Regions from separate parts of the Homo sapiens genome. Here region 1 is linked to region 2. The links are contacts of gene promoters, found by promoter capture Hi-C in blood cells and fetal thymus (Javierre and others, 2016). All regions are on one chromosome and are shown on one strand. The core of a region is centred on a gene start or on the middle of the fragment in contact, and the rest is flanking DNA. Distances in the headings are between cores, read along the strand shown.

Region 1 (3,302 bases), core at 638-3,137, 910 kb after region 2:
TGTGTCCACGGCAGGCCAGCCACTCTGTCATCTGGACAGCCCGCATTGGGCTGCTGTCACAGCGACGCCGTCGGATGGTATGCGGAGCACAGACCCCATGCCCACCAGGGAGGTCTTCCCTGTCCTGGCCTGCCCTGCCTCCTTCCTGCCCGGAGTATCTGAAGAAGGGATCCCACAGCTCCCTCTGCATTTCTCCATCTCTGCGGCCACCCCCTGCCCTGGGTCCGAGGTTTGTCTCCCCCGACCAGACGGTGGGTTGACTGTGAGTAGGACAGTGTATGGGTCATCTCAGAGTCCACGGCCCCCAGGAGGCAGCCATGGGAAACGCTGACCACCAAGGGTGGGCCCTGTGCTGGGTGATCTGGCCTCTAATAGTCCAAACATTCCTAGGAGGTGGCATCTGTAGCATGAGCTGCCAGTGGCCCCTGGGGAATAGAATCCTGGGTCTTAAGCTGGGTGAGTAGTTGCCAGAATAAAGACTTCACTTCACAGCCTGACTAATTTCTGACCGATGGGATGCATAGGAAGTGATGTGTGCAACCTCCAGGAAGTACCCTTAAAGAGCAGTGTAGGCCGCTCTTCTCCTCTGCTCCTTCCTGATGGACAGAAGGTGAGTGTGACAGCTGGAGCTCCAGCAGTCACCTTGGACCATGAGGTATAAGACAGAGATGAGGAGGAACAGTGTGGGATGCAGTTGAGGGCCAGAGACGCTGACGTCATCCTGCTCCGTGGAGTGAGCCATCGTGAAGGCCAAGTCAACACGTCGGAAAGAAGCAAAGTATGGAGAGTCAGAGGAGCAGAGCTGCGGCCCCATCACGCTTCATCCAAAACCCGCAACAGCATCAGGTTTTCCATTTGCTTAGGCTAATCCACCATCCACCATCTGCTTGCATGTGGTTTCAGCCAGCTTGAGTTGGGTTTTCTGTTATGGGTTTTCTGTTACAGGCCACTGAAAACTTCCCAACACATACAGTGGGAGAGTCATGTGTTTCAGCTGGCCTGTGAGCCTGGGGAACCCAGGCAGACTTCCTAGAGGAGGAGCCCCACTGGGAGAAAGGAGGGAAGGGTGCTCCATACTGTGGGTGAGGGCATGGGGGACAGGTCCTCAGACCAGGAGGAGAGCTGGTACCCCCTGGACTGATAACCTGGCAGCCCCTGGGTCCCAACCCCAGGGCCCTTTGCCAGGCTCCATTTGGCCCAATTTAAAATTCTCAGGGAGCACCTCACACCTTCCCTGGAACTGTGGAAAGCATGGCATGGCCTCTCTGTACCCTTCAGATTTAGTTACCGCACCTCCCAGCTTTCCCAGGGCTGCCTTCCTCTGACCACATGCACACAGGATACACAAACATGTGCACTTGCATATACACATGGGCTCTGTGTGCACCTCTGTGTTTACATGCCGGTGCACATGCCTGCACCCCATGTGTGTATTCACATGCCCTGTACACCCATGTGTACACCATGTGCGTGTGGTGTACATGTGCACGTGCCCTTATGCTCATATCATGTCCACGCACACACACGTGTGCACTTGCATATGCATTCTGTATATACAAGTGGGTGCACACATGTACGCAGAGTGTCTGCATGTTGTATGCTCCTACACACACGAGGAGCATGCGCAAAGCTGCACGTGTACACTTGAACATGTGTGCACATGCATGTACCCACCCATGTATACACGTGGTGCACACATATACACATGAGGGTGTGCATACAGGCACACGCCAATATGCCCTACTCTCCATACAGATTTAGTGGAGGCAGAAGTGCAAGGGGCGTGGGGTGAGCCAGGGTCCAGCCAGACCTGAGGGAGACCAGCTGACACCACAAGAGAGGGCCATGCCCTCCTCGGCCATCCGTAGCAGAGCTTGCCAGGCCCCCGCCAGCCTTGGGTTTAGCTATGGCTGGGGGCAGAGGTCAGGAATCCAGCTCTGGGTCCCCCATGCCTCAGGCTGTGCAGGACTTGAACCAGTCCCCAGGCCAACCCAGCACCACACCCTTCCCCCTCTGCAGGATGGGCCTCCCCTTTTCACCCCTACCTGGATTCCCAACCAAAGACTAAAGACTTCAGTAGGCAGGGAGATTTGCACATCCTCAGGTGGTCAGGCTTCAGAGCTGGGGTTGGTGGGTAGGCGGGTAGAGGGGCTGGTGTGGCTGAAGCCCAGGGGAGTGCTGGGGAGGTGGTTGGCAAGCTCCAGATCTCTGCTCTGGGAGAGAGCAGGGGGCTCCTCCCTGGGGCCCAGCGGGACCTCAGTTTCACGGGAGTCTCAGAGAGCCAAGCCCCCTCCTCTCCCAGATTTCCTTTGTCCCACAATCCCAATGTCTGTGCCAACCAACCTGGTGCAGACCCTCGCTGCCGTTGGTGCTGGTGAGGTACCATGCTTGGGGGCACGTGGTGGCTGAAGGGAGGGAAGGTGTGGAATGTCTCAGATCAGCAAGTTCCAAGCACGGCTCACCGGCCTCCGCCCATGTGGCCTCCATTCCTCCAGGCCAGGGACAGGGATGGGGCAGGAGACAGCCTGTGTCTTTTATTCCTTTTATTTTTGGGAAAACAACCTTCTCCACCTCTTCAGGATTTGGGGAGCTGCTGTTCTTCACACCCTCTAAATCTGGGGCCAGCAAGTCACCAGCGACCTCTGGTACTACGGAGGTCAGCCCGGGGGGATGAGTTACAATGAGTTACACAAGCCCGTTCGTGACCCACATCGCCTGCCTGACACACTCCAGACACTGCAGGGAGTGCAGGCTGGGATGTGGCACTGGAGGGCGTGCACGTGGGCGTGTGCTGAGATTGCGTTCCTTACACACACAGAGTCTGTGTGTGTACGAGTACATCCTCATCATAGCCTTGGTGGCATGCCCTGGGCCCCCACAGATCCTGGCCAAGGATCTGGGCTCTGAGCTGTGGACCTACCCATGTTAGCGGCTGGATCCAACAGTGCCTTCTGCCCAGGCCCATGGCGAGCCTGGCCCTGTGGAGGGACGCCTCCTCCGTCATTACCTGCGTCGTCTGTCCTCTCTCAGCCACCTCCACCTGCGTCACTGCCAGCCTGCCTCAGCACGGAGCCTGCTTTCCCTCCCACCCCCAGGCCCTCGGTTCTTCCCACGTGGGATATTCTGGCTGTACGCGCGTGACCGTGACTGTGGGGACTGGCCCAGGGCTTGACTGTGGGGACTGGCCCAGGGCTTTTCAGGGTTGGAGCTGGGATTGGAGCCCGCCCTGCCTCGGGGAAGATCCTCGCTCCCTTTCTCCACGGCACCTCTGTGATTCTCGTCACCTGCCAACACCAGCACCA
Region 2 (3,123 bases), core at 400-2,899:
GGCTTCAGCCTCTGCTGGGTCTCCTGGGCTGCACCCCAGCCTTGCTGGAGGTGGGGGAGGGCATGGAGTGTGGCTTGTCTGGGGAGAAGGGTTCCAGCTCACCTGCTGGGGCTGAGCAGGCCTTTCTTTAAGTCTGGCCCAGAGGATATGGCCCAGGCCTGTCCTGAGGGGTTCTCAGGGGGGTGGGAAGACAGAATGGGTACAGGGTTTTGCCATGACAACCCTGGCCTTCCCTGCCTCCCGCATGCCCACCTTCCTAAGTCTGAGGCTGGCACTGACCTAGGAATCTCAGCGGAGGGAGCTGGAGCCTGGGCTGCTCAGAGGGTGTGGCCCCGAGGGGCAGGGCCCTGGACATGGGACCATGTGCAGCCTGAGGTCATCACCAGGACACATGGGAGCCCATGGAAGGCAATGGAGGGACCATATCCAAACAGATGACTTCTGATGGGGTGCCAGCCAGGCCTGGGAGGCTCTCAGGTACAGAGCAGGCCAGGTGGGCTTCCTGAAGGAGGTGATATGAGCCAGAACCTGAAGGGGGAGCATGAGTTTGCATTGCAGAGGAGAGTGGGAAGGGCACCCTCTCAAGGCAACTGCACAGAGATGTGGAGGTGCAAAAATACAGAGACCAGGAGAGGGGAGGGGCCCCTGCTCCCCAGTCAAGCCCCGTCCTGTCCTGCGTCACAGCCCTGCTGTATTAGAGGCTGTGGTAACAGAGAGCCTGGCATGAGTGACACTCAAACACCAGGGGCATTGACTGCTCAATCACATCCCAGTCTGTGGCTGGGGTTCTCCTTGTGAAGAGCCAGGCCCCAGCTCAGGCCCCTGGGAGCACTTACCTTTCTTTCCCTGAGGCCATCTCTGGCTGCCAGGCTCCTTACAAGCCACACCTGCTGGGGATACAGCAGCCCACGGCTGTTTGGGCAGGCGGGGTAGCTCTGAGGCCATCTCCGGTAAAACTGTGCTGGGATGCGTCTTCCCAGGCTTTGTTCCCTTCTCTGTCTCATGTCCCCACCCCTACCAGCACTTGATCCCACTTTGGGGGAACTGATATCCCCATGAGCTCTTTGTGGCTGAGGCAAGGTCTGACCTGCTTCATAGGGACTACTGGAGTTGCTGAAGATGGGGACTGCTGACCTGGGCTCTGAAGACTTCGGGAATGCCTGTGGGAGCCCCGTGGTCTGGAGGGACAGGCCAGCTGAGGCTGGATCAAGGCCTCGGCTGCCCTGAGAGCACTCACAGGCTGCGGCTGTGGACACCAGGCTGACCCGAGGTGAGTCAGGAGGAAGAGTGCTGGTGGGGACAGGCTGGCGGTCTCTGGGTGCCAGGTTCTCATGGTCTCTGAGCAGGGCAGGTGAGCAGATGTGACTGGGGATTGATCTCGGAGGGTTGCTGGGTGCAATGGGAAGGGTTAAGGATGGGAGGCTGGCCCAGAGGGTGGCCCTGCAGGGTCCAGGCGAGGGGCAGGGTGCTGGGTGAGGGGCTGCAGTGATGCCCACAGAGAGTTTAGTGCGCAAGAGGCCACTGAGCCCACAGGTCCCCACTCAGCCTCCCCCACAGCCCCAGCCCACTCCTGAGTGGAGGCCCTTTAAACGCAAGGTTCTGTCCTCCCCTGGGAGGCCCCTCCCCGTCTCCTGGGCAGCCTAGTAAACAGAAGCCTGTCTCCCGGGCTGCTGGCATGGCCTCCTCTTGTCCTGGGACCCCCAGCCCAGCAGGTCTGCCCCCTCCTTCTGTAGCCACTCCAGGCGAGACACTTGGTGAGGGAGGGGAATGGACGGGAAGGGGGACGGGGCACCTGGGGCTCTGAGAATGTGGGAGCAGGAAGCGGCCCTCTGACCCATCTTCCAGAAGAAGATGCTCTGCCAAGGTCATGAAGGAGAGTGGCAGTGGGGCTGGGCCAGGATGGGGGCATGCGGGCATCAAAGCCTCCCTGTAAAGGTCCTTCTCCTCCCTACGCTCCCCAATGCTCTGATGCTCTGAAGTCCCCAGGGAAGGGGTTGGCTCTCTTCCTGAAGCCTTTGGATCTATGGACCTGGAGGTGTGCAGGGTCCTTCTCACTCTTTAGGGCCCCTTCCGGATCATTCTCCTGCCCTTGCCTCTTCTAAAACTCAGCTCTGGATCTCAGAGGCAGTGGGAGGGGCAGCCAGCCATCCATTCACTCACCCATCTATCCACCCATCCACCCACCCATTCACCCACCCACCCATCCATCCATCCACCCAACCATCCATGCATCCATCCATCCATCCATCCATCCATCCATCCATCCATCCATCCATCCATCCATCCATCCATCCATCCATCCATCCATCCATCCATCCACCCATCCACCCACTCCTCCACCCACTCATCTGCCCACCCATCCGTGCACCCTGCTCATGGTCAATGCCTTCACTCCTAAAGACCCTGGCCCCTGCCCTGCCCTCTCCCTAGCTCTCCTGTCATCCTATTGGTGATTTCTCTCAGCCCCTCGGACTCCTGTAAGGATTTTGTCCTCTCACCCAGCCACCCACCCGACAAACTGTACCCAAACTGCAGTCCCCTTGTCCCCACCGCACTCTGGGGATTCTTGCCCCAGCTCCTGCCCTCGAGGGCCAGCCCCAGCACTCCTTTAGTGAGGTGGAAGCCCACAGTGTCTTCCACCTGTCTGGCCTCCTCCACCCCTCCTCACATCTTTGCCATGGCCTCTGCCCCCTCGCTGGCCCCTCTCCTGTTTTCTTGTACTAGTCTGGCAGCTCCAACTCCCTGCTACCCTTGCCTGTGCCCTTGCAGTGGGCTGCAGCTGAGTGAACTCCACCTTGCTAATGCCTGCACTTGGCTTCAGCAGCAAGGAGGCCGGCTCCGCTGCCCTCCCTGGTCTGCCCAGCCTCTCCTCACCTAGCAACCACCTCGCACCTTCTCTCCCTCTAAGCCCCCATCGTCTCTCTCCTCACACTGTGCTGCTGGCCTTGCACCCTCCTTCCCTGAGAAGCTGAAGGCATTGGAAGAGGACTTTGCTGGTGCCCACCCACTGTACTTGTGGCATTGGGCGCTGTCCACCCCGGCCTGCTCCTGTGAATGCCCCATCCCTCCTCCCAGCCAAAGGCAGCATTCAGCTTCTCCCATTCCATCCCCCAACTCACGCTG

The links. The method cuts DNA at HindIII sites, captures the fragments that hold promoters and counts their contacts. A CHiCAGO score of 5 or more calls a contact.
Region 1: a contact is called between a fragment that was not itself captured here and the fragment with the promoter of C8orf90 in region 2, in 1 of 17 cell types (M0 macrophages). The highest score is 5.0, in M0 macrophages.

What each region holds. Positions count from the first base shown.
Region 1 is chr8:142,424,584-142,427,885 of GRCh38, forward strand. No RefSeq gene overlaps it. Among named protein-coding and RNA genes, the nearest start is that of TSNARE1, 23 kb to the left of the region's middle. RefSeq lists an enhancer at 2,582-3,302. The HindIII fragment of the contact is 5,778 bases long and covers 1-3,302 here.
Region 2 is chr8:141,513,022-141,516,144 of GRCh38, forward strand. C8orf90 (chromosome 8 open reading frame 90) reads left to right here and starts at 1,650. Exons shown (of 2, transcript NM_001395960.1): 1 at 1,650-1,754. The coding sequence starts at 1,676. LOC105375791 (a long non-coding RNA gene) reads right to left here and starts at 1,194. Exons shown (of 3, transcript XR_928727.1): 1 at 1,135-1,194; 2 at 837-887; 3 at 1-528. RefSeq lists a silencer at 1,248-1,542. The HindIII fragment of the contact is 11,475 bases long and covers 1-3,123 here.